Linked DNA regions of Homo sapiens: regions 2, 3, 4, 5, 6 and 7 are each linked to region 1. The links are contacts of gene promoters, found by promoter capture Hi-C in blood cells and fetal thymus (Javierre and others, 2016). All regions are on one chromosome and are shown on one strand. The core of a region is centred on a gene start or on the middle of the fragment in contact, and the rest is flanking DNA. Distances in the headings are between cores, read along the strand shown. Region 1 holds the start of ZNF229 (zinc finger protein 229). Region 2 has its middle 6.7 kb from the start of ZNF155. Region 3 overlaps ZNF222 (zinc finger protein 222). Region 4 holds the start of ZNF223 (zinc finger protein 223). Region 5 has its middle 5.8 kb from the start of ZNF45. Region 6 overlaps ZNF221 (zinc finger protein 221). Region 7 holds the start of ZNF230 (zinc finger protein 230).

Evidence for each region. The method cuts DNA at HindIII sites, captures the fragments that hold promoters and counts their contacts. A CHiCAGO score of 5 or more calls a contact.
Region 2: a contact is called between a fragment that was not itself captured here and the fragment with the promoter of ZNF229 in region 1, in 5 of 17 cell types (erythroblasts, M2 macrophages, M1 macrophages and 2 more). The highest score is 8.9, in erythroblasts.
Region 3: a contact is called between a fragment that was not itself captured here and the fragment with the promoter of ZNF229 in region 1, in 1 of 17 cell types (M0 macrophages). The highest score is 5.3, in M0 macrophages.
Region 4: a contact is called between the fragment with the promoter of ZNF223 here and the fragment with the promoter of ZNF229 in region 1, in 2 of 17 cell types (erythroblasts and neutrophils). The highest score is 5.6, in erythroblasts.
Region 5: a contact is called between a fragment that was not itself captured here and the fragment with the promoter of ZNF229 in region 1, in 1 of 17 cell types (erythroblasts). The highest score is 5.1, in erythroblasts.
Region 6: a contact is called between a fragment that was not itself captured here and the fragment with the promoter of ZNF229 in region 1, in 4 of 17 cell types (M0 macrophages, erythroblasts, M2 macrophages and 1 more). The highest score is 8.4, in M0 macrophages.
Region 7: the fragment with the promoter of ZNF230 here is called in contact with the fragment with the promoter of ZNF229 in region 1 in 4 of 17 cell types (M2 macrophages, fetal thymus, total B cells and 1 more); the score reaches 5.8 in M2 macrophages.

Annotation. Positions count from the first base shown.
Region 1 is chr19:44,446,170-44,450,163 of GRCh38, forward strand. It overlaps ZNF229 (zinc finger protein 229), which reads right to left and starts at 2,303. Exons shown (of 6, transcript NM_014518.4): 1 at 2,140-2,303; 2 at 1,344-1,431. The HindIII fragment of the contact is 11,359 bases long and covers 1-3,994 here.
Region 2 is chr19:43,975,748-43,979,248 of GRCh38, forward strand. It overlaps a transcript of ZNF221 not described here. Among named protein-coding and RNA genes, the nearest start is that of ZNF155, 6.7 kb to the right of the region's middle. The HindIII fragment of the contact is 1,108 bases long and covers 913-2,020 here.
Region 3 is chr19:44,025,539-44,029,548 of GRCh38, forward strand. It overlaps ZNF222 (zinc finger protein 222), which reads left to right. Exons shown (of 4, transcript NM_001129996.2): 2 at 1,485-1,611; 3 at 1,860-1,952. Among named protein-coding and RNA genes, the nearest start is that of ZNF222, 2.2 kb to the left of the region's middle. RefSeq lists an enhancer at 87-136. The HindIII fragment of the contact is 1,659 bases long and covers 1,198-2,856 here.
Region 4 is chr19:44,049,625-44,053,620 of GRCh38, forward strand. It overlaps ZNF223 (zinc finger protein 223), which reads left to right and starts at 2,412. Exons shown (of 5, transcript NM_013361.6): 1 at 2,412-2,571. RefSeq lists enhancers at 2,078-2,579, 2,399-2,638 and a silencer at 2,299-2,358. The HindIII fragment of the contact is 18,414 bases long and covers 1-3,996 here.
Region 5 is chr19:43,939,126-43,942,978 of GRCh38, forward strand. No RefSeq gene overlaps it. Among named protein-coding and RNA genes, the nearest start is that of ZNF45, 5.8 kb to the left of the region's middle. The HindIII fragment of the contact is 910 bases long and covers 1,071-1,980 here.
Region 6 is chr19:43,955,767-43,959,337 of GRCh38, forward strand. The region is part of intron 1 of ZNF221 (zinc finger protein 221); the gene reads left to right. Among named protein-coding and RNA genes, the nearest start is that of ZNF221, 6.3 kb to the left of the region's middle. The HindIII fragment of the contact is 1,773 bases long and covers 1,155-2,927 here.
Region 7 is chr19:44,001,264-44,005,236 of GRCh38, forward strand. It overlaps ZNF230 (zinc finger protein 230), which reads left to right and starts at 1,694. Exons shown (of 5, transcript NM_006300.4): 1 at 1,694-1,844. ZNF230-DT (ZNF230 divergent transcript) reads right to left here and starts at 1,607. Exons shown (of 3, transcript NR_110727.1): 1 at 1,002-1,607. RefSeq lists an enhancer at 1,457-1,966. The HindIII fragment of the contact is 6,099 bases long and covers 1-1,887 here.

The DNA of each region.
Region 1 (3,994 bases), core at 1,053-3,552:
ATAATTGCAGAGGTAGAAATAACAAAACTAAAAGAATAATTCCATGTAGGGATGAAGAGGAGGAGAAATAAATATGATTCTGAGGTTGAAGTCTGAGGAAAACAGGTAAATTATGAAGTTATGATAAAATAATAAGATAGCAAAAGGGAAAGCAGGGTTTTGAAAATTGCAGCTCTAGTTTCTCAAAACTGGAGTTATCAAAAGGTTTAGGTTCGAATTCTGGTTCAGCCACTTTGTAGTTATATTAACACCACAGGAGAGACTTAACCTTTTGAATGAGTCTGTACTTCTGTCAAATAAAGATAATCCTTACTTGCAAAACTAAAATAATTTAAGTTTTTCTCTCTTTCACACACACATGCCTATGTGAATAAACTTCAAAGCCCAGTACGTGGTACACAGAAAATCATCAATATACTATTACCATTGACCCAACCCAGCATTAACCTAGGAATACAGGAACTCATGCATTTAGTAAATGTACATTCAGTGTCTAACAACATCTTAGGAGAATAAACACTAGACATACAGCAGTAAATTAAGATGGAAAAGGTAATTGTTCTCATGGTGCTTACTTTCGGGTGGGTTAATCTCTCTACAAATTAGGTGACCTTTGGTTGCAAAAAGGGCTATGAAGAAAATAAAGCAAACATGATAGATTCCTGTTTTCCAACAAGAATGTAGGTGCTATCAGGTGAACATATGTGGCAGCTGTGGAAAGAGCAACATTAAATCAGGTGGTCAGGGACAGTCTCTAAGAGCTGCCTGACAAATAAATCAGCTGTGAAAAAAGCTGGGATGAGACAAGTCCAGAAGGAAGCATAAGCGCAAAGACCTGGTTTCTGTTTAGAAGGTCTCCTGGCCAGGTCTTACCTGTTAAGTTTTTTTAACTTTTTAAACCTTAGCAACTCATCTGTGACATGGGGATAATAGCTAACATACAAACTTGCTCAGAAAATTCAATAGAAATACATTCATTTATTCAAATATTTATTGGCAAGCCTGGCACTGTCCTAGACACCATGGATAAATAATACCTGGCATATAGTAAGCACTCAGTTAATATACACCATCACAGTTACTCTAATTATTTCTACCCTGCGTTTCTTCAGCATGGCGCTGAAACAGTGTAAGCCTTTACTGACCCAGTGACACACTACTAGGAGCCAAGAAGAGAATACACTAAATAAAGACACTGGGAAATTCCTCAAACCTCCCCCATTTCTAGGGGAAGGCAGGTGTGGCTAAGGGGTCTGAATGAACATTTGTGATATCAATGGGATGAAGAATGAGGTCACCAAGAGACCTGGCATTGCCACAAAAGAGAACCAAAGTTCACTCACCTGGAGCTCTAGTGTCAAGAGATGTGGGGTTATTTCTCCTTCTTTTATACAATTATCTCCGAGAAACGAACAATTCCAAGAAGGAAGCCTGTGAAAGAAAAATGAACAGCAGGATAACATGATTTAATCCCAATTCCCACCACGCCACAGGGGGAAATCTCTCAGTGCCAGCTGGATGTAATCTACCCCTTCCTGTAATCTACCCTCGCTACTTGCTTCAGGAGCCGAGGAAAAGAACCTCTCTTCCTACAGGACTCAGAGTACAAGGGACACGCCATTCCTGATGCCCAAAGAAACCGTCTACAAGCCTACTTTCACTGCCCCTTTCAGGAGACAAGGAGAATCAAGACAAAATCTCAAGATTTTAATCCAGAGCTGACTGTCACATGCTGTGGGACACTTACAAGTGAAATTCTGCCTGTGTGTGCTTAGGCGGCTACAAAAAGCAGAGCCAGCAACGATACAGCAAACCAACTCCTAGGACTTGCACAGCGCTTAATACATTTCAAAGGATAAAATTAGAACACAGGGAATCAACTTCCTGTTTACAGAAATGACTTCGCAGAAAACTCTGAAATTACTCCACAAGTGGGTGGGCGGCTACCCTGAGAAAATTCATGTCATCGATCCGCAACTGACACAGTGGAGTCTCCCGCACTGCAGATCTCATCTCAAAGCCAGAGCTGGCCTCAAACTGCTTTTCCAAGCCTGGACTGCGAGGGCTGCCGACCCGGGCCCACCCCGCACAGGCGCTCAGAATGTTCGATACGTGCGCCTCCTTACACCCCTGCCTCACCAGGCCGAGCTCATGGAAATCCGTGGGCTTCGACCCTCCGCCGCACGTTGTCCCTTCACACTGGTCCTATAGAGCCGATCCTAATTCCCATGGCCTGACAGTACAACCGCATGGAGATGCACGTCTCTAAGACGCCTCACCACTGCCTAAGAAGCAATCAAGGTGACGCGCCCACCGGAAACGGAAGTAGTCGACTCGAGGTGTGGGACTACCTTTCCCAGAACCCTCCGCAGCGCAGTCCGATCCTAGGGGCGATGGTGTCGTAAATGCGCGTCCACCTCGAGTCACGCCCACTGCGAGGCGGCGGGAGGCGGCATGCAAGGTGTTTCTGAGTTGAAAAGAATGTCTTTACTCAGTACTAACATATTCGCGTTGTAGCAAACCTGACTATATTCTCAAACAAGCCCATCATCCCATCACCAGGGATATAAAGCATTATTGATTTTCTGGTGTAAAAGCCAACTAAATATTTATTTCAAAAGTAGTTCATATTACATGTAAAGAATGGTTTAAAAAAAATTCTTACTTAATCCCTGGTTTATGTGAGTAAATATGAATTCTTAAGAATCCCATTTCCCAAATGGCATCATAATATTTTGTAATCATTTCTTGCCACAGGTCATATATCGTGGATAGTTCTGTATGTCACAAAAGACGTAGAGATACATAGAGATAATAAAAAAACACAAATTATTTGCAATACTTGCCTAGCATTCTTTAGTTTTTAGGGAAGTTACCCCTTTGTCCTGCATTGAACTTACACTTCTAATTTTATGATATCAAAACTACACACAATCACTTTCTTTAATATTTTCCCAATTTGATGGACTAAATATCCTGTCTTATTTTCCCAATTTGACAGAGTAAATATGCTTATTACCGATTGCATTTCATTGTCATCTTTTATTGTCATACACTCTCTGTGTATGAATGATATCGCTTCTAAGTGATGAATTGCTCCCCCAGTTTCAACATTTATAAAGTAGTTTAGAAAAAAAAAAAAACAAAAAACTTCATCTGACAAGGTATATCAGTCTTTTCATTTGTGGCTTCTTTTTTTTCTCCAGTATGACCAAAAAGACATTCCTTAGCCTGATTCCCAATAAGTGCATATCTATATTCATTTCAGGCTCTTTCATTTTTCTTTTGAATCACCGCGTGATTCATTTAAGTGTATGATATGAAAGGAAGATGGAGTTTCCTGTTTCACCAAAGGATTGTCTACTTTTCTTAACAAAATTTACATAAATATTAATTCTTTCCTTTCTGATTTAAACGGCATCCTAATCACTTACTACATTACTATATATATAATGAAATATTTTCTGGGATACAAGTGTGTTCTGAAGATAGAGATTGCTTTTTCTGTGCCATGATGAAAGGTTTCAGTTACAGTGATAACTCATTTCCTTATCTCTCCCTCCTTGTTGTGTTTCAAAAATTTCATCCTAGAAGTTCTAGAACTCTCTCTTATAAACAGATTATCGAATTGTTTTGATAAATTCTAAAAAATTGCCAATTGACTCCAAAGCATCCAAGCCCTTCAGATATTTGGTTCCAAACCCACCCCTCTTTGCTTGGGTAGACACAGTCCTACTTCCCATCCTGTGTCCTCCAGTTTTACAAATGTCTGAATTTGCTGCTATTGTTCTTCCCTCTGTAAGTCCATCCTTTCCTGTACTATTAAAATCTTACTCCATATTTAAGACACAACTTGAATATAATTTCCTCTATCGAGTGTTTTTGAACTCTATATCATAATTCAATGAACAGATCAGTCTGTGATTGGGAGAATTTCATGCGAGTGTAGTGGATGTTAAATACCACTCTCAGAACATTCTCATTTCCCCGAGAA
Region 2 (3,501 bases), core at 217-2,716, 470 kb before region 1:
AAATAATTTATGGAAACATGAGTTGAAATGCAGGGTACACTCAGCACTGCAATGTAGACCTTTATTTTGATTATTATCTTATTCCACTTGGCTCCTGGCTTCTCCTCATCCTCTGTTCTCAAGTCGGATTCTTATTATTTGGGACTCTGTCTAGTGTTCCCTTGATTGTATATAGTATAAATTTAACAATCATTTGTCACTTTTCTCACAATATGAGGTGAAAAGATTTTGTAATAACAGACCACTGCATATTGTACAATTAAGTTTTTTCAACAATTTTAAGGCAGGATTCACAGTAAACACTTTTTTCTTTTAAAAAATTATTTTTAAGGAATAGAGACAGTCTCACCATGTTGCTTGGCTGGCCTTGAACTTCTAGGCTCAGGCAATCCTCCTACCTCAGCCTCCCAAAGTGCTTGAATTATAGGCATGAGCCACCACACCCAGCCCACAGTAACATTTCTAATGTGGCAGATGTAGTTACATTGACAAAAATTTTTCTGGTAAAGGCCAGGTGTGGTGGCTCACTCCTGTAATCCCAGCACTTTGGGAGGCTGAGGCAGGTGGATCACTTGAGGCCATGGGTTCGAGATCAGCCTGGTCAACATGGCAAAACCCCGTCTCTACTAAAAATACAAAAATTAGCTGGTGTGGTGGTGTGTGCCTGTAATCCCAGCTACCTGAGAGGCTGAGGCATGAGAATCGCTTGAGCCTGGGAGGCGGAGGTTGCAGTGAGCTGAGATTGTGCCACTGTACTCCAGCCTGGGCAACAGAGCGAGACTTCATCTAAAAAAAAATTCCTAATAAGTTTTGAATTGATCATGATTTGTGATTCTGCGTTTCTGTGCAGGCTTTAATATGATTGCCTTCTAATTGCTGTAGTTATTTCTTTTATCAGACTTCTCAGGTAGAAGCTTTGCCAAATTTGAAGGAAAATTTTTGGCAACCTCAGTATTTCTTCCCATCTCTATGAACTACCAAGAACATTTGTTGGAGTTTGGTGATTTCATCATACATATTCATTATTGGAGCAAGAGTAACCTTTACATACTCTTCTTTATTGTTGGCCATAAGAATACGTTTTTTGGAAAGTGGTATATGGCAGTATGTATAAGGTACAACTGTTCAACCTGGAAATCATAGGATAGAAAATTACAACATTAAAACTCTGAAAATTAGTAGATTACATGGATGATGTCACTTAATTTTAAAATGGAAAGAACAAGTGTTCAACCACAGGAATTTGTATGAAGTGCATTTATTAATATAAAAACACAAAGCCAGTAAAATGATGACATAGATGTACAATAAAAAGAGAAGAGCATAATGTATGCCTTAGGGAAATCCTATTGTAGCCTTCATAACAAACTAAGTGTCTTTGTGTTTCTGGGTTTGTTTATTTGGTTATTTTTAGTGTGTATGTACATCATTTGTGGATGAATATTCTGACATTTTCCCTGGCAATGAGTATTTGCTGGAATTTTTCATTTTATAATTTTATGCATTTTAAATTTCTCATTGAACACCAATTTTACCAAAGCAGTTATGTGATGAAAAATTTGAAAAATTATTAATATTAATCACTTACCTATAAGGACTCTGAATAAGATTGCTCTACATTGTCATATGACAGTTCAAAATTAAGGAATAGGGATGTGGAAGTCATATTTCAAAATAAAAAAATGTATCTGGTCACCTGGATATACAGATTGATGAGTGTGGTCAACTGCCTTCATAACTAATGTGTGTGATTCTGCTTTAGGCATAAGTCAGGAAGCAAGCAAATCCTAGTGACAGAAATAATGTGGGTATATATAGTTGTGGAGGTTAAAAAAACAGATTCTTTGAAGAACAAATGCGCATGATCAGGGAACTTAACATGACAGCAGCAGTCTCTTAGTGTGTGGAACCAGCTCGGACAAAGAGCTGATTTGGGTGCTAATTCATAGTTATACACCATGGTGTAACTTAACTGTATTAGGTTAAAAGGCATTCTTCAAAGTGTCTAGTTGAGATAGTAAGCTTTTCATAATTAATTTTCTAAATAATGTATTTTCATGATGCTATATTCATGCTGTGCCAGTTTGGATAGTAGATTGGAGGTCCCTAAGACCACCTCTGGGTTCTGTGATTTACTAAAATAACTGAGACTATAGTTGTACTTATAACAATATTACAGTGACAAGATACAAAACAGAATCTGTAAAGGGAAATGGCTCATGGGCAGTTGTCTAGAGGAAACCAGAAGCAAGCTTACCAGAGTCCTCTCTGCATGGTGTTACATAAGACTCAACTCCTCTAGCATTGAATTGTGATACTACTTGTGAAATGTCTACAATGGAAGCTCATTAGCAACCAGCAGCACAGGTTCTTATTGAGATTGATTATGTAGGTATGTGTCTAGTACATATCAAGATTCCCAACTCTAAGAAGAAGAGCAAGTGTTCCAAATAAGCTGCATTGTAGAGTTTAGGCGCAGTGACCACTCCTACCCATTATGGAAAGGTGGTAACTCTCTCAAACCCCATGTTCCTTGACTCCAGCCAAAGGCCAGTGTTGCAAACAGCTCTTTTTAAAGTTAGCAGTCTGACTTATGCCTGCTATGTTAACTTTTTGTGCATGTGGTATCAGAAAAGTAGGGCCTGCAGTCTTGTGGGGTTTTCTTAAACTATCACCAGATAATAGTTCATCTCTAAGATAATTATTTGTAAAAGAAAATTCATCAGATTACATTTTTAAATATTTTTATAATAAAAAATACCATAGGTAGGCCTTCCATCTACCCTCGTGTGTGTCTGGGTCCTCAAATTGGTCACAGGATGATATTAACAGCTGATTTGTTTTTATTGTTCATATTTATGTCTCACAGACTGCATGAGTATTTGACTCCCAATAAAACTGAATATTGAATACCTAGCTTCATATGTAGTACCTGAGCTTTTGTGTGGCCAGTATTTCTTGCCACTTCTCACGATGGACTGGGTCTCTTTTATGTATATGACCCTGGCAAGTTCACTATGTTAACTTTGAAATTGGGTACATTATTATAATTGGGAATTATTGCAGAGTCTCAATCTCTGTGTTTGAAAAATGAGGGAAGCTTCCCAAGTTATTATTCTCTGACCATATCAGTAGGATATCCATTTAAATGTTTGAGCTAAATGCCACAACATTTGTGTGTGTGTGTTTTTTTTTTTTTTTTTTTTTTTTGATACACTATGACAATAACTTCCTGGATAGATTTGTTGTTGTTTTTAATTTTTATAGTAAAAATACACTCATTTTACTTGCAAGAATAATGTCTAGACATTGGAAACAATTACTTTGGTACAGAAAAGTCTAAAAAAGAAAGTGGAAGATAGGAAGTATGAATATTTTGGTAAGGATGGTTCAGCATATCTATGCATATAGGTAACAATTGTATAGAATTTTACAAAACTAGGAACACACTAAGCATACTTGCTCCTAACAGGATTGTCCTAATATGACACTAATGTTAAA
Region 3 (4,010 bases), core at 777-3,276, 420 kb before region 1:
GGCTCTGCTAGGGTCTCAGGGAGTGGGATTGGCGCGGCCCGGTGTGCCCTACTTTGACCTCGCTTAGTCCGCCTCCCTCCTCCCTACGTGTGCAGCCCCTTTCAGTGTGGTGTGGAGTGTCACTTAATGTCCGTTTATCTTCCATTGCTGGTTCGTTTGTTTGTTTGTTTTGTAACGGGACTTTTCGGACCATCCTAATGGATTCATTTTGGGACCTGAAAGAGGTAACACAAATGAGAGCCTTAAAAGCAGTCCCTGTCACTCGGTGTCTGGTGGTCTCTTGTTAATTTCCCACGAAGCCTGTCAGGTCCTCTGGTGGGGTCAGAGCTCCAGCTGCAGGGGCGCCGGCCCTTCTGCCTGATCCCTGCAGGACGCTGGATGATCCCTGACGCCTTCTGACCTCTTTTTAGGAAAGTGAGGGGAGCATTTAACTTTTATGGGGGACGGCAAAACGGTCAGGGTGTTTCACAGCTTTCTTTTTCCCCAGCCCGACCTTTCTAAAAGAGCTGCAGGAAGGGACTTCTTGGCTACTGATGGCAAAGCTCTACGTGAGTGATCCTTGGCTTTTTTTCTTTGACAGAGATGCTTACCTCAACCGAGAGTGTGTAGGATTTGTCCCTCGGGCATGGGTGTCGATAATGATTAAGCCTTAATTGGTAACTTTATTCCAAGTACTTTATACCCCAAAATACATGATCTTCACAGTGGCACTGTGGAGAGGTGCTGCTTTTTTCATTTTAAAGATGGGCGTGAGACACAGGTGGAGCAGGAGTTGAAACCTAGGCAGTCCAGGTTAGAGCCTGAGTTGATCATCTCTTGAATGCAATTCTCATTGAGGCAGAGGTACTAGCTGGGAACAGGTGGAGAACGTAAGTTAGGACTTGATTGAAGGCACCTTGAGGCAAGGCTCAGGGGCTTGGACTTCTATAGGAGTTTTTGTTTGTTTGCTTTTTGCTTTTTAATTTTTTTAACCTTATCTACTATTTTCTTTCTCTCTCTCTCTCTATATATATATATATTTTTTTTTTTACAGAGTTTCGCTCTTGTTGCTTAGGCTGGAGTGCAGTGGTGCAATCTTGGCTCACTGTAACCTCCGCCTCTCGGGTTCAAGTGATTCTCCTGCCTCAGTCTCATTTTCGTCAAAGGGCCCGCGACTCAAACAGAGCATTTGGACTATATCACTCTAACTCTGCAGCAAGCTTTCCTGAAGTGGAGTTAGAGATAGCATCTCAGTAAATGTCCTTTACCCACTATTTATTCAGGACACACCCTGTTGACTGGTGTGTGCAGTCTCCATTCCAAACCCCTATTGCCTAATCAGTCATTGTCAGGACACAAACAGAATAAGTAGGAAATCTATAAGCTGACCTATGTCTCTCAAGATCCAAAACAACTTTACACTTGTCCCTTGTGCCAGTGCAATGCTGCTGTCTCCCAATAGTCTTTGGCCGTAAGATTGAGGTGACATCTGCTTGATGTTGTAGGAGGCAGTGACCTTCAAGGATGTGGCTGTGATCTTCACTGAGGAGGAGCTGGGGCTGCTGGACCCTGCCCAGAGGAAGCTGTACCGAGATGTGATGCTTGAGAACTTCAGGAACCTGCTCTCAGTGGGTGAGGACGGGCACCCCCTGTAATGGAATGTCAGGCCCCAGGAGTGGTTTTTTAATCCTAGGGTTTTCAAGTTTGAGTGTGCAGTGAGAACCTACATTTCCAGTAAATTTTGCCTGGCTATTAGGTTGGTGCAAAAGTAATTGTGGTTTTTGTCATTGGAAGTAATGGTACACTGCAATTACGTTTGCACCAACATGATATTACCTTGAACATGTTGGGATTAAGCATGTGACTTTGCCTGTTCACAGGGCATCAACCATTCCATGGAGATACTTTCCACTTCCTAAGGGAAGAAAAGTTTTGGGTGATGGGGACAACAAGCCAAAGAGAAGGGAATTTGGGTAAGAACCAAGCAATTGTGTGTCCCTGCATGTGATTCCTGTTACTTCTGTCCATGCCCATTTCCAGCATTTTGGGGTAAATGGCCAAACCTGTTTCCTGGATTATTACAGCCTTCTCCCTGCTGATGCCCCTGCTCCCACCCTTCCCACCCTGCCATCTGTTCTTACGGTAGCCAAAGTGATCCGTAGGAAACGGAAGTCACATTGCCATTCCTCAGCTCAAAGCCTTTCTGGCTTCTTGTTTTTATTAGTGTTACAACCTCTTTAAGTGGCTTTTGTAGACCCTGTGATCTGCCCTTCATCCCACACTGTCTGACTGCATCTCCTGTCCTCTCCCCCTTGCTCCATCTTTTCCAGGCACCTTGTCCTCCCTGCTGTTTCTCTATCCTGCCAAGGACATTGTATTGCCTATTGTGGCCGGTGACATAAAACTCAGCAGACTGAACAAGAAACACTTATCTTTCTCTTCTGTAGGCCTGAAGTCTGACACATCTCACTGGGCAAAAATCAAGTGGTCTTAGGGCTTTGTTCCTTTCTGGATGTTCATGGGGAGAAGACTTCATTTTGGTTTACCAGTCTCTAGTCACTGTCCACACTCCGTGGCTCTTGTTTCCCTTCCTCCATCTTCAAAAGCAGCTACATTGCATCCCTGACCATTCTTCCATAGTCATGCTTCCTCTGCCACTCTTCTTATGCCTTCCTCTTTCACCTTTCAGGTCCCTTGTGATAGTATTCATCACTCCTGGATGATTCAGGATGACCCTCCCACTTTCTGCTTAGCTGGCTAGTGACCTCAATGGCATCTGTAGCTTTAATCTCCCTTGCTGTGGAACATAACGTGTTCATAGGTTCTGAGGACTGGATGTAGACATCTTTCAGGAATGATTATTTTCTCTACTACAAAAGCTTCTGCCTCCGAGCCCTCACTTGCTCTTCTCTCTGATTGGAATACACTGTCCCCACAAAACTTACTGACCCCTCTTTTAGTTTATGCAGCTCTCTGCTCAGTTTTAATATCATGGGAGAGGTCGTCTCCAAGCACCTTATTGAAAATACTATCCTATCTTTACTCTTCTTGGCCTGCCTGTGTTGTGTCTCATGTATTTTTGTCTACTGATAAGTCGCCCCTCCCCTTTGCAATGTAATCTCTTGAAGGCATTTATCTGTTTCTTTATGACTGCATCTTCAGCACCTAGAATACTCCTGGTACATGGCAGTTATCTGTAAATATTTGGTATTCTTATGAATGAATTAATGGATGAGAGGACTTGACTGTCTGTAAGAATCATGGAGATAGCTAATAAGTAACAGACATACAAGAGTGAATGTTATATAGTCATGCCTTGGTAGCCGTGGGGTTTGATTCCAGGACCCCCTTGTGGATACCAAAAGCCAAGGATGCTCAAGTCCCTTCTACATGTAAAGTATTTGTGTATATCCTACACACACCCTTTCATATACTTTAAGTCATGTCTATATTAGGTATAACACCAAACGCAATGCCTACCCATCGCTTTATTCACATGGATTCAATGTATAGGACTCAATGTGAGAAATTCAAGTTTTGCTTTGTGGAACTCTGTGGAATTTTTTTTTTCCAAATACTTCTGATGCACTGTTGGTTGAATCCATGTATGCTGAACCCACAGATATAGAGGCTGACTATATGTTGCAGGACAGTTGTTGGTTTGTTTTGTTTTGTTTTTTTTTTTTTTTTTTTTTTTGTCTGTGCAGGGCTGCTTATCCAATTTTGACTTTCTTAGGTTCTCTTGACATGGTTGGTTTTCTGTGTGTGCAGTTGACCCACATCCCATGGAAACTTTCAAGCATGGTTTTCATGACCACATTGAGAAACATGCCTTCCCTGGGGCTTACCCTTGAGCTTTCCTTAAGGACCGTGTTTATGTCTGTGAGAAATTCTTTATATCTATGAGCTGAATGTTGCTTATATTTCCAAATGTTTTTCTTCAAAAAATGTGTCTATTTCTGCATCTTTATACAAATTTAATTGTCAAAAATGTGAAGGAATATAGATTTTACTGAAATCTTTCTTTATAT
Region 4 (3,996 bases), core at 1,162-3,661, 400 kb before region 1:
AGGCCAAGGTGGGCAGATCACGAGGTCAGGAGATTGAGACCATCCTGGCTAACACAGTGAAACCCCCATCTCTACTAAAAATACAAAAAATTAGCCAGGCGTAGTGGCACATGCCTGTAGTCCCAGCTACTTGGGAGGCTGAGGCAGGAGAATCACTTGAACCCAGGAAGCAGAGGTTGCAGTGAGCCGAGATCGCGCACTGCACTCTGGCCTGGGCAAAACAGCAAGACTCTGTATCAAAAAAAAATTGTGAACAGTCTTTTTTTAATTTTTTTTTATTTTTTTTTACTTTAGGAAAATGGATACAGGACATTAGACTCTTTTTAAAAAGAAAAATATAGGTCGACAGGTCAATGTATGTTTATTTGGGAGGACAAAAAATATGGTTTATCTTCAAAAGAGAATTTTAGATGAATTGTTTCCTGATTTAGCTTTATACTATTATTAATGTCTTTCAACTAACATATGCCAGTTTTCAAATTGTTTCCTATAATGAAGATATTTTAACCAAGAAATGGAAAGGAAGAAACTCTTAATAATAAATCATGCTCCGTCACCTATAGAATCTTCTCCAGTTTTATGGCATTGAATCAGACATTGGGTGTCAGATTGATACCAATGCCAAGCTCTTCAACAGTTATACTTGCTTTAAGATACTTAGCAATTCACTAACTTCTCTGAAATTTAGCGTTTCTACATCTAAAGTAGAAATATTACTACCATGAGAATGTTAAATGTAGCTTTTCCATGAGGACACAGCTTCTCCATTGGTGGCTGGAATTTTGTTTTTCCTGTCAAACCAGTGGTACCACAGCATCTGGACTAGGGCTGTAACTGAGAACCACCATTTTTCTAAGAGACAGCTTATTTATTTCTCTCTCTTTTCTCATTCCCTTAGTTCCCCACTTCCTATGTAGCCCTTTAAAAATGCAAATATAGACTTTTACCTCCCCTTCACCAGACACTTCCTACAGGGAAAGTTCATCTAACTGTGTGCTCCAAGCCAGAACTCTCCTCCAGAATTAACAGTCAATTTACAAACTAAAGCATGCTGGCCTCTGAACTCTCACTCACCAGGAGGTTGCCTGAAGAGACAACAGTTGAAAGCGTGCCTGCTACTCTCTCCCTTCTGGTTACAACTTATTTCTGCCCATGAAAAAGCCAGCTCAACTGCCTAATAGATAAGGCACCAAGCCAGCACACAGACCCCTTCCCTCTTCCTCCCCTACCTTTTAAAAGTGCCTGCTTTCTGCTCTAAAAGCCAAGCCGTGCACTTAAAGACAACACCTGTGCTACTTCCCCTACGCTAGCTCTAGAATAAATCACTTTCTTTATACCAGATCTCCCTCTTGTTAACTGGACGTTGCAAACGGGAAGCCACTGATCTACTTTTCAGTTACAGGGGCTGATGCTTTCCTGGCTTCTCATTGCCCCTCCCAACCCATTCTACCTGGCTCATTCTTTAAACCAGTGGTCCCCAACCGTTTTAGCACCATGGACCGGTTTTGTGGAAGACAATTTTTCCACGGACTGGGGAATGGTTTCGGGATGAAACTGTTCCACCTCAGCCATTAGATTCTCATAAGGAGCGCCTGACCTAGATCCTTCGCACGCACAGTTCACAATAGGATCCGCGCTCCTATGAGAATGTAATGCTGGGCTGATCTCACAGGAGGTGGAGCTCAGGCCATAATGCTCCCTCACCTGCCGCTCACTTCCTGCTGTGCCGCCCGGTTCCTAACAGTCAGTGGACCGGTACAGGTCTGTGGCCCTGGAGTTGGATATCCTTGCTTTAAACCCTGAGCCTCCTTTCAGCCATCTGACGGCTCAACAGTCACTCTATCTAGCTCCTTGAATATTGTATCTCCTCGCTTGTTCCCTGTCCAAGAACACTCCTGTCAATCATGGGAGACATTTAGACTTCATAAATTCTTTCTATTCAATATTTTCGCTCGAGGACTCTGGGAAGGACAACTGTCAGGGTAACAGTCTGCATTCCCCACCAGGAACCTGGGGCTATGAAATTCGTTCCCCGTGGGTGTTGCGGGAAGTGTAATCGAGGAGCACCATGTAGTCGCAACACTTGAGCCTAAAGGGTGAGGTGATGGACATTTTCCTTTTGCATCTGAGGCTCTGCAGTCCAGACACCTTGCGGGATTCCTGATACTTCAGCTCAGGTAGGCGTTTCCGGAGAATTCTGGGAAGAGTAGTCCATTTTACGGGAAGTGTAGTCCACTGGCTCGTGGAACACTGGGTATTTTGGCTCTGGCAGGTGAACCGTTGAATTCTGGGAACGATAGTCCAGACACTCTGCGGAGTCCCGGGCCCTTTGGCTCAGGGGGGCGGGTCCGGGGAATTCTGGGGAGTGGAGTCCAGACACTCTGGCGCAGAGAGGACACTTCCGGTCTCCTAGTCTGAGGTTCCTGCTTTAATGACCGGGGTAGTTTGAGCCATTTCTGCGTCTTGCAGGACATTTTGAACGAACCCCCTTTGCTTGAGGCTCGCAACCACCCGATGATCGATGATCGTCTCAGGGGAAAAGAAGCCTTGGCGAAGAGCAGAGGTTTAGAGGTGCGAGGGCGGGGAGGGTGTTTATTGTTCCCGTCAGCGGAGCCTTCTGGCGTCGGGGGGCTTTGCTCGCCTCCCGGGGGGTGGGATTGGGGTGGCCTTGTGTGCCCTGCTCTGAGGGTTTCCAGGACTTTGACCTCGCTCAGTCCGCCTCCCTACGTATGCAGTGTGTACACTCTTTCTCGCAGTGTGATGTGGAATGTTAATGTCTCTGTACTTCCCATTGCTGTTCTTTAAAATGGTGCTTATAGGGTCATCCTAATAGAATTGTTTTGCGAATTGAAAGAGATAATACAAATGAAAGCCTTAAAGTTGTCCCTGTCACTTGGTGAGTGGTCTCTTGTTGCCTGATATTTTAAAACGTTTGATATCATTTCAAAGCTATAGAAAAATTGCAAAAACAGTATAAGAAATTCTCATATACCCTTTACCCAAATTTGCCAAGTGTTTACATTTTTCCTGTTTGCTTTGTTGATGACCATCAACCAAATACCACCAGGAACATACCTGTAACCAGAGACAGCTGATTGGTAGCTTTCTGCAGCAAGGAAGCCCACATACCACGGTAATTGTGGGGTGTCTTGGTAAGAGGCATTTAGGAAGGGCTGGTTATAGGGTTTCACATAACATGGTAGATAATATTGGATATTATGTTAAATAATACTGTTACCGATTACATGTCAGATAGATGTGTTAAAAGAATACTAGTATTTGTAGTGTACTTACTAGATAGTGTTGGATAGCATATTACCTAGCATCATGTTATCTAATCTGCAGTTCCATATACGAATTTGTTAAATTTTTCATTTAAAGTCCTTATGACTGTCCTCTGCCCCACCCTTCACCTATTCAAAGTCCAGTTTATGCGTTGTCTTTAGCTGTCACATTTCCATAGTTGTTCATTTGGAGTTTGATATTGAAGGGGGCCTGCCTCTCCACACCTGTGGGTGTTTCTCACAAGGTGGAAATGAGAAACTGAGAAAAGAAATAAGACACAGACACAAAGTATAGAGGAAGAAAAGTGGGCCCAGGGGACCGGCGCTCAGCAAATGAGGACCTGTACCGGCACTGGTCTCTGAGTTCCCTCAGTATTTATTGATCACTATCTCTACTATCTTGGTGAGGGGGATGTGGAAGGACTATAGGGTAATGGTGGGGAGAGGGTCAGCCGGAAAACATGTGAGCAAAGGACTCTGTCATAAATAAGTTTAAGGAAAGGAGTTGTGCCTGGATGTGCACATAGGCCAGATTTATGTGTGACTTTACACAAACATCTCAGTGCAGTAAAGACCAGTATTGCCGCCAGTATGTCTCACCTCCAGCCATAAGGCGGTTTTCTCCTATCTCAGTAAATAGAATGTACGATTGGGTTTTATACCGAGACATTCCATTCCCAGGGATGAGCAGGAGACAGATGCCTTCCTCTTA
Region 5 (3,853 bases), core at 276-2,775, 510 kb before region 1:
GGTTTCACCGTGTTAGGTAGGATGGTCTCAGTCTCCTGACCTCGTGATCTGCCTGCCTCAGCCTCCCAAAGTGCTGGGATTACAGGCATGAGCCACTGCACCCAGCCGACACAGCATGTTTTTAAAATTCATTCGGGTTGTACTATTTGTTCTTACTGTTGAGTACTCTTCAATGATACGGATATATCACAACTTATTAATCCATTTATTTCTTGATAAACATTTGGAATGCTTTCAATTTTTTGCTACTATGAGCAAAGCTGATGTGGACATTTCACAACAACGATTTGTGTAAACATATGTTTTTACTTCTGTAGTTTAGATTCCTAATAGTGAAAGTGCTGGCTTACATTATATTTTATAGCATCATGAAAGCATAAATGATGTGCAGTACACTGCCCATAAAGTATATAATTTGATGAGACTTAACATATGTACACACTTAAGAAACCATGCCACAATCAAGGTAATGGACATATCCATCACACTCAAAACTTCCCTTGTGCCACTCTGTAATTTTTTTATAGGCTTAACTTTATCAGAAATTGTCAAATTGTTTTCCAAAAGCGTTGTAATTTTTATATTTCCATCAAAATGTATGAAGATTCCAGCATCTCCAATCTTCACCAACACTTGGTGTTGTCAGACTTTTTAAGTCATTCTGTGGGTGTGTAGTGCTTACGGTGGTTTTTGTTTGCATTTTACAGGTGACCAAATATTCATCACATTTTCATGTGCTTTTTGGCCATTTATGTATTTTGTTAAGTGTCTGCTTAAATCTTGAGCCCATTTTTTTAACTGCGTTAGTTGTCTTATTATTCATGAATTAAGAGTTCTTTTATATTTTGGATAAAAAACCTTTTGTCAGATATGTGTAGTGAGAATAGTTTCCTCCACTCTGGGCATGTATTTTTATCTCTAACAAAATCTTTTGAAGAGCAGGTTTTTATTTTTATGAAGTCCAATTTATCAATTTTTTTATAGTTAGTTTAAAAAAATTATATCTAATAAATCTTTGTTGACTCCAAAGATAAGATTTTTCTCCTATGTTTTCTTCTAGAAGTTTTATAAGCTTTAGCTTTTATATTTAGGCCTGTCATCCAAGTAATTACTATTTGTATAGGTGTTTCCAATTCATTTTTTTTCCAATTTATTTTTTAAAAAGACTCTTCCCTTCTTTAAATTACTTGAGACCTTTGGTACAAAATCATTTGACCATATATGTGTGTGGGTTTATTTCTGACTTCTGGACTCCCTATAGTGTTCTTTTGATTTATATGTCTAATTTGATGCCAATATTATGCTGTTTTGATTGCTGCAGCTTTATAAAAAGTCTAGAAGCCAGGCAACATCCATTCTCCAACTTTTTTTTTTCAAGGTTATTTTGGCTATTCTAGATGCTTTGGATTTTCATATGAATTTAACAATCAGCTTGTCAATTTCCTCAAATAAGCATGTGATTTTTTTTTTCCTGAGACAGAGTCTCACTCTGTCACCCAGGCTGGAGTGCAGTGGCATGATCTCAGCTCACTGTAACCCCCACCTCCTGAATTCAAGCGATTCTCTGCCTCAGTCTCCCAAGTAGCTGGGGCTACAGGTGTGCACCAGCACACCCGGCTAATTTTTGTAGAGATGGGGTTTTGCCATGTTGGCCAGGCTAGTCTTGAACTCCTGGCCTCCAGTGATCCATACTTCTTGAACTCCTATAGTGCTGGGATTACAGGCATGAGGCACCACACCTGGCCAGCCTGCTGAAATTTTAATCGGGACTGCATTCAATTTATAGATCAATTTGGTAAGAATTGATGACTTAACAATATCGTATCTTCCAATCCCTAGTCATACTATATTGCTCCATTCATTTAGGCCTCTTTTAATTTCTCTTGGCAATATTTTATAGCTTTCAATGTAGATGTCATGAATGTCTTTGATCAGATTTACCTTTAAATAGTCGTTTTTAAAATAAACCTCATACTTAAAAGCTTTAGATTTACAGAAAAATTGAGCAGGTAGTAGAGGAAGTTCCCATATATCCTATACCCAATTTCCCGTTATTAACTTCTTACGTTAGTATGTTACATTTGCTAGAATTAATGAACCAATATTGATACATTATTATTAACTAAAGTCCACGGTTTGTTGAGATTTATTTAGTTTTAAACTAATGTCCTTCTTATGTGCCAGTATGCCATCCAGAATGTCATGTTATATTTAGTTTATCATGTCTCCCTAGGCTCCTCTTGGTTGTGATCGTTTCTCAGACTTTCCTTGTTTTTGATGACCTTGACAGTTTTGAGGAGTGCTGGTCGGGTGTCCTGTAGAATATCCCTCAAATGGATTTTTTCCTCATAATCAAATTAAGGTTATGGATTTTGGGGAAGTAAAGTGCCATTTTTATCATGTCATTCAAGGGTACATGATCAATATAACCTATCACTCTTGACGTTGACCTTGATCACGTAGCTGAGGTAGTGTTTGTTAGGTTTCCTCACCCTTTTTCCCCTTTTCTCATATTGTACTCTTTGGAAGGAAGTCACTATGAGTAGCCCACATGGAGGAAATAGGGAATTATATCCCATCTCCTTGAGGGCAGAATAGCTATAAAAATTATGTAGAAATATTTCATATTTTCAATGTTACTAATATTATAAATAATGGTTTTTATTTTTCATTTCTGATTGTGTATTTATCTATTTTGTTTTTTAGGTTTGATCAGTTTTTGCTTTATGTATCTTGGAGCTCTGTTTTTAGGTGCATACACAATTAGGATTGTTAGGTCTTGTTAGTGAATGGATCCTCTATAATTGTGTAATGTTTCACTTTATCCCTGGAAGTTTTCATTGACCTAAAGTCTAAATTGTCTGATAATAATGTAACCACATCAGCCATACAGTTTTTCTTTTTATTGTGGTAAAATATGCATAGCATAAAATTTACTGTTTTAACTGTTTAAGTGAACAGTACAGTAGTGCTAAGTATGTTCACAATGTTGTGCAACTATCACTACTGTCCATCTCCAACTTTTTCTTCATCACATACTGAAGCTCCGTACCCATTAAACAATAACTTCACATCCTCTCTCTCCCTAGCCCCGAGTAATTGCTGTTCTACCTTCTGTTTCTGTGTATTTGACTATGCTAAGTACCTCGCATAAGTGAAATCATACAATATTTGTCCTTTTATGTCTGACTTCTTTCACTTAACATAATGTCTTTAAGCTTCATTCATGTTATCACGTGTCAGAATTTAATTCCTTAAGGCTGAATAATATTCTGTTGTATGTATATACTACATTTTGTTTATTCATTTATCCACAAACATTTGAGTTGTTGCCACCTTCTAGATATTGTGAATAATGCTGCTATGAACATTGCTATACAAATATCTGTTCAAGTGTCTGCTTTCAATCATTCTGTGTATACACCCAGAAGTGGAACTGTTATATCAAATGGTAATTTTATGTTTTTTTTTTTTGAGGAACTACTATATGGCTTTCCACAGTGACAACACCATTTTACATTTCCACCAGAAATGCACAAAGTTTCCAATTTCTCCACATCTGTGCCAACACTTGTTGTATCAGCAATCTTTTGATTAGTGCTTTCATGGCACATATTTTTCATCACTCCATTTTCAGTCTCTCTATATAATTATATTTAAAGTGAGTTTCTTATATATAGCTTATAGTTGGGTCACTTTTTTTCGTTGTTGTTGTTTGTTTGTTTATTTGTTTTTGAGACGGAGTCTGGCTCTGTCGCCCAGGCTGGAGTGCAATGGCGCAATCTCGGCTCACTGCAAGCTCCGCCTCCCGGGTTCATGCCATTCTCCTGCCTCAGTCTCCCGAGTAGCTGGG
Region 6 (3,571 bases), core at 791-3,290, 490 kb before region 1:
TTCCAAATCATATGTTCATTCACTTTGGAACTGCCATTCACAAAATGAGCAGCTCTTTGCTGGTCAGTTGAGAGTTGTTTATAGCTTCTCACACAGTTCCAGAGTCAGTCTCCAGGTAGCATGACTCTGTATAAACTATTTCCATTTTATTATGGAACTCTTCTGGGCACTGCCATCCCCATTAGAATGTTTTCCTAACATTACCTAAGAGAGCATAGGTATTTCAGGTGTCAAGATTTTTAATGTCTTTCAGTCATAGGGCTAGCCTCAGTTAATGCCCCATAGTGGGGTAGTAAATACTCTTCAAGTCAAAATTTTCTAGTCCAAAGTCTCAGTAATTGTCACTAGAAGGCACTCACAGGCTTCTGTCATAAGCCCCAGCCTACATTCCACATGGAGCTATCAAAACAGAATTTGTCCATACCAGCACTTCAGATTCTATTCTACACTGTGCGGACTCAGGCAATCTTACTGGTTCCCATTTAGCATGTCCAACTAATATTGCTTGAAGGGTAGATTTATATGCCTTCTGTTTTGTAATGCTAGTCAGGAGAAACGTTCCCTAGTCAGATACAATGTCCATTCCCATAAAACATTTAGGTAAAGAAGATACAACTTCTTAATATAAAGTCTGTTTAAATAGTCCAACTTTCATAATCCTATCAACCCTTACATTTTTATGTTCTAGTCCCAGGAAGTTTTCCACCACTTGCCCACCCCAACACTCCCCCCAGCCATTTTATCCTCTCTTATGCGAAACACTGAGAGTCAGCAGGAGGGGATTGAGCCAAAGGACCCTGGCTCTTGTCAATCTTTATCTTGACTAATCTACTTGACTACTGCCCCCAAGCAATTCCAAGTGGGGTTTCTCATCATAATCTTTACCTTCGGCCTTTTAAAATTTCTCCAAACTGGAGTAAATACAACAAACTTATTTGAAACCCTTTAATATTGGGGGATCAGCAGAGGATCCACCAAACTTTCAATATTATTGTGTTCAGACCTTTGTTTTAGCCTCATCAATTTCCATTTTATTTTTTCCATTTCTTAATAAAACTGTTAAAAGTAAAAAATCTTAAATAAGTCAAACAATTTAATTGAGCAAAAAACAATTTGCAAATCAGACAGCCCCTGAGCTAGAATAGATTCAGAGAAGCTTCACTGCTACCATGTGGTTGAAGAAGATTTGTAAACAGAAAAAGGAACGTGACATTCAAAAAGTGGAAGTGAGGAACAGAAACAGCCAGTTTGGTTACAGCTCAGCTTTTGCCTTATTTGATCCTTGTTTGAACAGTTGGCTCCCTTTGATTGGTCAAAACTCAGTGACTGGCACAAGAGTAGGTTACAGTCTGTTTATACTTCCAGTTAGGTTACAGTTCGTTATATATGGATAAACCTTTTCTTATTTTTATTTTTATTTTTTATTTTTTTTGAGATGGAGTCCTGCTCTGTCGCCCAGGCTGGAGCGTAGTGGAGCAATCTTGGCTCACTGCAACCTCTGCCTCCTGGGTTCAAGTGATTCTCCTGCCTCAGCCTTCCAAGTAGCTGGGATTACAGGCACACACCACCACACCTGGCTAATTTTTAGTAGAGACGGGGTTTTACCATGTTGGCCAGGCTGGTCTTGAACTCCTGACCTCAGGTGATCTACCCACCTTGGCCTCTCAAAGTGCTGGTATTACAGGCATGAGCCACCATAACCCGCCTGGAGAAACCTTTATACCTAACTTAAAGTATGTAAGAAAGCAGCTTTAGGCTAAACTTAATTTAACATAATGATCTAAAGATTTTCACCCTGTTGGAATGAGTCCCATGACTCTCTCTCTTTCTTCTTAGTTTCACCTTTATCATTGTTTTTTAAATGACCTTTAAAAAATTTCTAGCTTTCTGGGATGAGTCGTTTGACTCTGCCCTCTGCCTTTTTCCTCTTGCTAATTAACCTAATGTTTTTATTAACATCTTTAATATCTTTAAAGGGAAGCTGAGACAGCAAATCTGATAAGGCTTCTAGGACTGTTGTTCAGTTTTGCAAGAGTTAAGATGTCAACTAATAAATAAAATCAATACTGAGCCACAAACAAAAGAAAAGATGTTTTAAGTGGGGTCTTGTGAATTGCAATCAAGAAGTACAGATCTAGCAGTCAGCTAAATCATTTCCTGTTCTATCCAGGCAAGGTTGGGCAGGGGCTTATAAATGTTTACTGTAAGTTTACATATCTGGAAGGTATTAGTACAGTCCATGATTGATGTCAGTTGGTTAGCAACTTAGGATGTCTTTGGTTGATGATCAATCTAGTTCAGCATAGCTGTTTCCCCAAGAGTTTCGCAATCAGGCCATGTATAAACAATTCCAATCAAATGCAGCTGGTTTTACAATTTGGCCCAGTTAAACAGGTTAAAATCCATCTGGATGTGTACATAACTGAGGTCCAACTCCACATGCCTCTTTTTAGAAACTTCTGACATAACCATCTCCATTTTGAGTTTTCTTTTTACAAAAGTCACGTGGGGTATCCATGCGAAAGGGGCCCCCTTAGCCACAGCATTTACCATGACCTGGGTAAGAAGCATATTCAGCAGATGAATATCCCAGTCATCATAAATTCAGTCCCACGTGGCTTGCATGCGGTATATCAGCTGCATCATCTGGGGTATCCCACCGAGCATTTATAGGGTGAGTTGAGCAGTCCGCTTTTTCAGGGCAAGCAGACATTACCATGTCTTTTATCCAGTTGATCAGGCTGGCTGTTCCCTTGGGAACAATCTGTTAACATTGATAGTGAGATTCAGGCAATATGGTTAAATATTGAGTTTATTCAAACACAAAATTTTAAGATGTCCACCTGGGAGGACACGGACTTCAAAAGATTGGATAAGTGCTCTGAAGTGGAAAGGTTTGAGAGTCATTATGTAGGCAGGGTCTAGGAAGCTTAACAGGATGTCAGCATTTTCTATACAAGATTAATGCATAGTTATAGCAATTCGATAGCAGTGTTTCCTTTTATTGGGAAGAACGTATTTAACATTCTGCATTAGAGATGTAATAGTCAAAGGGGTCTTTTATCTCAGACAAAGAATCTTTTATCTTAGATGCTATCTGGTCTGAGCCAGGAACAAGAAAACAAAGAAGGAAGTTAAGAGGTCAAGCTCAGTGACTCAGTTTCCTTCGGGCCTAACAACTTTTAGAAGCCCAAAATAGATAAGACTATTGGGTTTTTGGTTGTTTTTTTTTTTTCACATCTCCTGTGTGTCTGCATCAGGTGTTTACCGTCTGTAATTGTTGCATCATGTATCACCATCTGTAATTGTTTCATAGTGAACTGTGGGTCCTACATAAACCCAAATATGCTCTTCAATGCAACATTTAAAACCAAAGATGCTGCTACTTAGTTTCTCTCACAATCCAGTTGAGTAAAGATTCCTTAAGAAGCTACAAAATAAACAATTCCTTCACACTGTACACTGTAGTTTCAGTTTCTTGGTTTTACCCTTCCCATACACTGATTGCCTTTTGGTAACCACAGGTCTTAGAGGTACTTACTGTTGTCCTGGTATATTTTTTCCCTTAGGG
Region 7 (3,973 bases), core at 444-2,943, 450 kb before region 1:
AACACAGACCCAGAGTGCACGGACCTGGGAAGCAGAAGGGACCTTTGATGCCAAGTGCCCCTAACCTTTTAGGCTCAGTTCCCTGCATGCTACGATTGAGTGTGTCAATACATCTTATCTTTCGGGAAGGCAGAGTAGATCAAGGATACAGCTATAACTGGCATATGAATAGTGATCACTCAATTTTCAGAGAGCGGATGTTTGGCATCAAAAGTTTGGCACAGTCACCTTATTTTTGTGTCTAAACAAAATTTTGAAAAGTTTTTAGTTTAGAAAAATAGGTAAACAGTAGACTCCATTTTTTTTAAAAAGAAGAATATTGGTTTATAGGCCAATGTATGTTTATAGGGAGAAAAAAAGTTACCTTCAAAAGAGCAGGTTTTTAGATGAATTGTTTCCTAATTTAGCTTTATACTGTTATTATTTTTTAACCAATGCCAGTTTTTAAATTGCTAACTATAATAAAGAAATTATGTTTCACCAAGAAATAAGAAGAAACTTAAAAAAAAAAATCTTTAATTATTGAGGTATCTGTTGCCTAGGCTGGAGGGCAGTGGTGGCATCATAGCTCACTGCAGCCTCAATCAAACTCCTGGGCTTCAGCAATCCTCCCACCTCAGCCTCCTGAGTACTTGGAACTTGTAGTCCCAAGATCAGGCCACCATGCCTGGCCAGTTAAAAAAAAATTTTTATAGAGACGAAGTCTCCCTGTATTTCCCTGTCTGGTCTCCAATTCCTGAGCTCAAGGGAACGTCCTGCCCTGGCCTCCCAAAGGGTTGGCATTACAGGTTTGAGCCACTGCGCTTGGCCAGGAAGAAAACTCTTTATAAGACATGCTCCTTCACCTATAGAATCCTCCCGTTTTACTGCATTTACAATCTCAATGTAAGATTGATACCAATGCCTAGCTCTTCATCAGTCATTATTGCTCTGAGGTACTGAGCAATTCACTACATTCGCTGAAATTTGATGTTTCTACATCTAAGGAGAAATATGAATACCATGAAAAGTTTATGGGAAGATAGCTATTCCATGACGACACCGCTTCTCCACTAGTAGCTGTGATCTTAAATGGGGGTGGCTTTTCCTGCCAAACCAGTGGTCCCACAGCTTCTGGAGTAGGGGCTGGTGTCTTCCTGCTCCTCATTGCCCCTGCCAAACCATTCCACCTGGCTCATCCTTTAAACCGTTAGTTTTAACCTCCCATCGTCAGATTATCCTAATCCTTGAAGATTTTATCTCCTCGTTTGTTCTCTTCCCAATAACACTCCTGTCATCGTGGGAGGCGTTTAGACTTCAGGAATTCCTGTCTATACACTATTTTCGCTCAAAGACTCAGGAAGAGAGACGGACGACTCACAGGGTCACAGTCCACATTCCCCACCAGGCGCTCAGAGATATGGAATACGTTCCCGGTGGGCACTGCGGTGTGTGTAGTCAAGGACCACCGCGGAGTCCAACGCTTCCCGCTGAAGAGTGAGATTATAGACATTTTCCTTTGGCATTGGAGGAAGCGGAGTCCAGACACACTCTGAGTCGCGGGCAAGTTGGCTCAGGCGGGTGGACGAGTGAATTCTGGGAACTGTAGTCCATCAACTTCATGGAATGGCGGACCCTTTGGCTCAAGCAGTTGAACCGGGGAATTCTGGGAAGTGGAGTCCAGACGCTCTGTGGAGACGCGAGCACTTCCGGTGTGTGAGCCTGCGGTTGCTACATAACCGCGTAGTTTGAGCCATTTCTGCGTCTGGCGGGTCCTTCTGAACTTGTCACCTTCGCTTGGGGTCGCAACGACCCGATGATCGATGATCCAAGCAAGGGAAAAGAAGCCTTGGCGGAGAGCGGAGGTTTGGTGGGGGCGGGGAATGGGGTTTTTTTCCCGTCCACGGAAGCTTTCTGGGATGGGGGTGCTGTGCTCGCATCCCGGGGGTTGGAATTGGCGGGGTCCTCTGTGCCCTGCTGTGAGCGTTTCCAGGACTTTGACCTCGCTCAGCCTGCCTCTCTCCACCCTACCTGTGCGACCGCTTTCTCGCAGTGTGACGTGGAGTGTTACTCAATGTCCTTATACTTTCCATTGCTGTTTTTGGTAATGGGGACATTAGAACCATCCTAGTAGAATCGTTTTTGGGAACTGAAAGAGATAACGCAAATGAGAACCTTAAAGCAGTCCCTGTCACTTGGTGACTGGTGGTCTCTTGTTAACTTCCCGAAGAGGTCAGGTCCCCGGGTGGAGTCATAGCTTCAGCTGCAGGGGCCCTGGTCCTTCTCCCTAATCCCTGCAGGACGCTGGATGATCCCGGGAGGCCTTCTGACCTCTTTTTAGGAAAGCGAGTTGCGTCCGCTTCCACGAAGGGCGGGGAGCATTTAACTTTTATGGGGGACCGCGATGCAGTCAGGGTATTTCACAACTTTCGCCTTCCCCAGCCTGACCTTTCTAAAAGAGCTGCAGGGAGGGGACTTCTTGGCTACTGAGGGCAAATCTCTATGTGATTGGTCCTTGGCTTTTTTCCTTTATAGAGATGTTCACCCAACCGAGAGTGTGTCCTCGGGAATGGGTGTTGATAATCATTAAGCCGTAATTGGTAACTTCATTCTAAGTGCTTTATACAAATAAATTTAGGCCACACTGTGGCTCTGTGAAGTATTGCTTTTCTTTGTTTTAAAAATGAGAGTGAGACACAGGGTGCATAGCAGCCAACTAGTGAGAGGTAGAGCTGGGGTTGGCACCTAGGCAGTCCAGGTCAGAGCCTGAGTTGATCACCTCTTGGATACATTCTCATTGAGGCAGAGGAACTAGCTGGACTCGTAGGGAAAGCAAGTTAGGACCTGATTGAAAGGACGTTGAGAGCAAGGCTCGTGGGCTTGGACGTCTAGGAATTTTTAAAAATTTCTCAACTATTTTGTTTCATGTTTTCCAAGTATTTCGTACTGTTGTGGAACTGTATCATTGTGGAAAAGTCTGAAATAGGAGAAATGAGAGTAGAAAAAGTTTTTTAATTACCCATGTATCCAAGATGTAAAGGTAGTAACTGTTAAGCTTCTAATTGATTTCTTTTGTCTTTCTTTGTGTCTACTTCTATATTTGTTGATAAACATTTTTTTAAAAATTGTTATATTTTAATGTGTTTTCCCATATGTCTTTTAACTATAGAAAATTTTAAATATTGCTAATAGAGACTAAACTAGTGAGGCTGGTTGTGGTGGCTCATGCCTATAATCCCAGCACTTTGGGAGGCCAAGGCAGGTGGATCACTTGAGGTCAGTAGTTTGAGACCAGCCTGGCCAACATGGTGAAACCCCATCTCTACCAAAAATACAAATATTAGCCGGGCGTGATGGCACGTGCCTGTAGTCCCAGCTACTCTAGAGGCTGAGGCAGGAGAATTGCTTAAACCCGGGAGGTGGAGGTTGCAGTGAGCCAAGATCACGCCACTGCACTCCAGCCTGGGCAACAGAGTGAGACTCAAAAAAAAAAAAAAAAAAAAGAATAAACTAGTGAACTGCCATATTATATAATGCTCAATTTTATTATTCCCATTATCCTTATGACTATTTCCTGATATCTAAAATATTTTTGCTGGGCGCGGTGGCTCACGCCTGTAATCCCAGCACTTTGGGAGGCCGAGGCGGGTGGATCACGAGGTCAGGAGATCGAGACCATCCTGGCCAACATGGTGAAACCCCATCTCTACTAAAAAAAAAAATACAAAAAATTAGCTGGGCATGGTGGCAGGCAGTTGTGGTCCCAGCTACTCCAGAGGCTGAGGCAGGAGAAAGGCGTGAGCCCGGGAGGCGGAGCTTGCAGTGAGCGAGATCGCGCCACTGCACTCCAGCCTGGGCTAGGGAGCGAGACTCTGTCTCAAAAAAAAAAAAATTAAAAACTAAAAACAAAATAAAATATTTTCATCTTTATATCATTTAAAAGCTATAGAAAAGTTGCAAAAATAGTATAAGGAGTTCTCATACTCTATCCAAA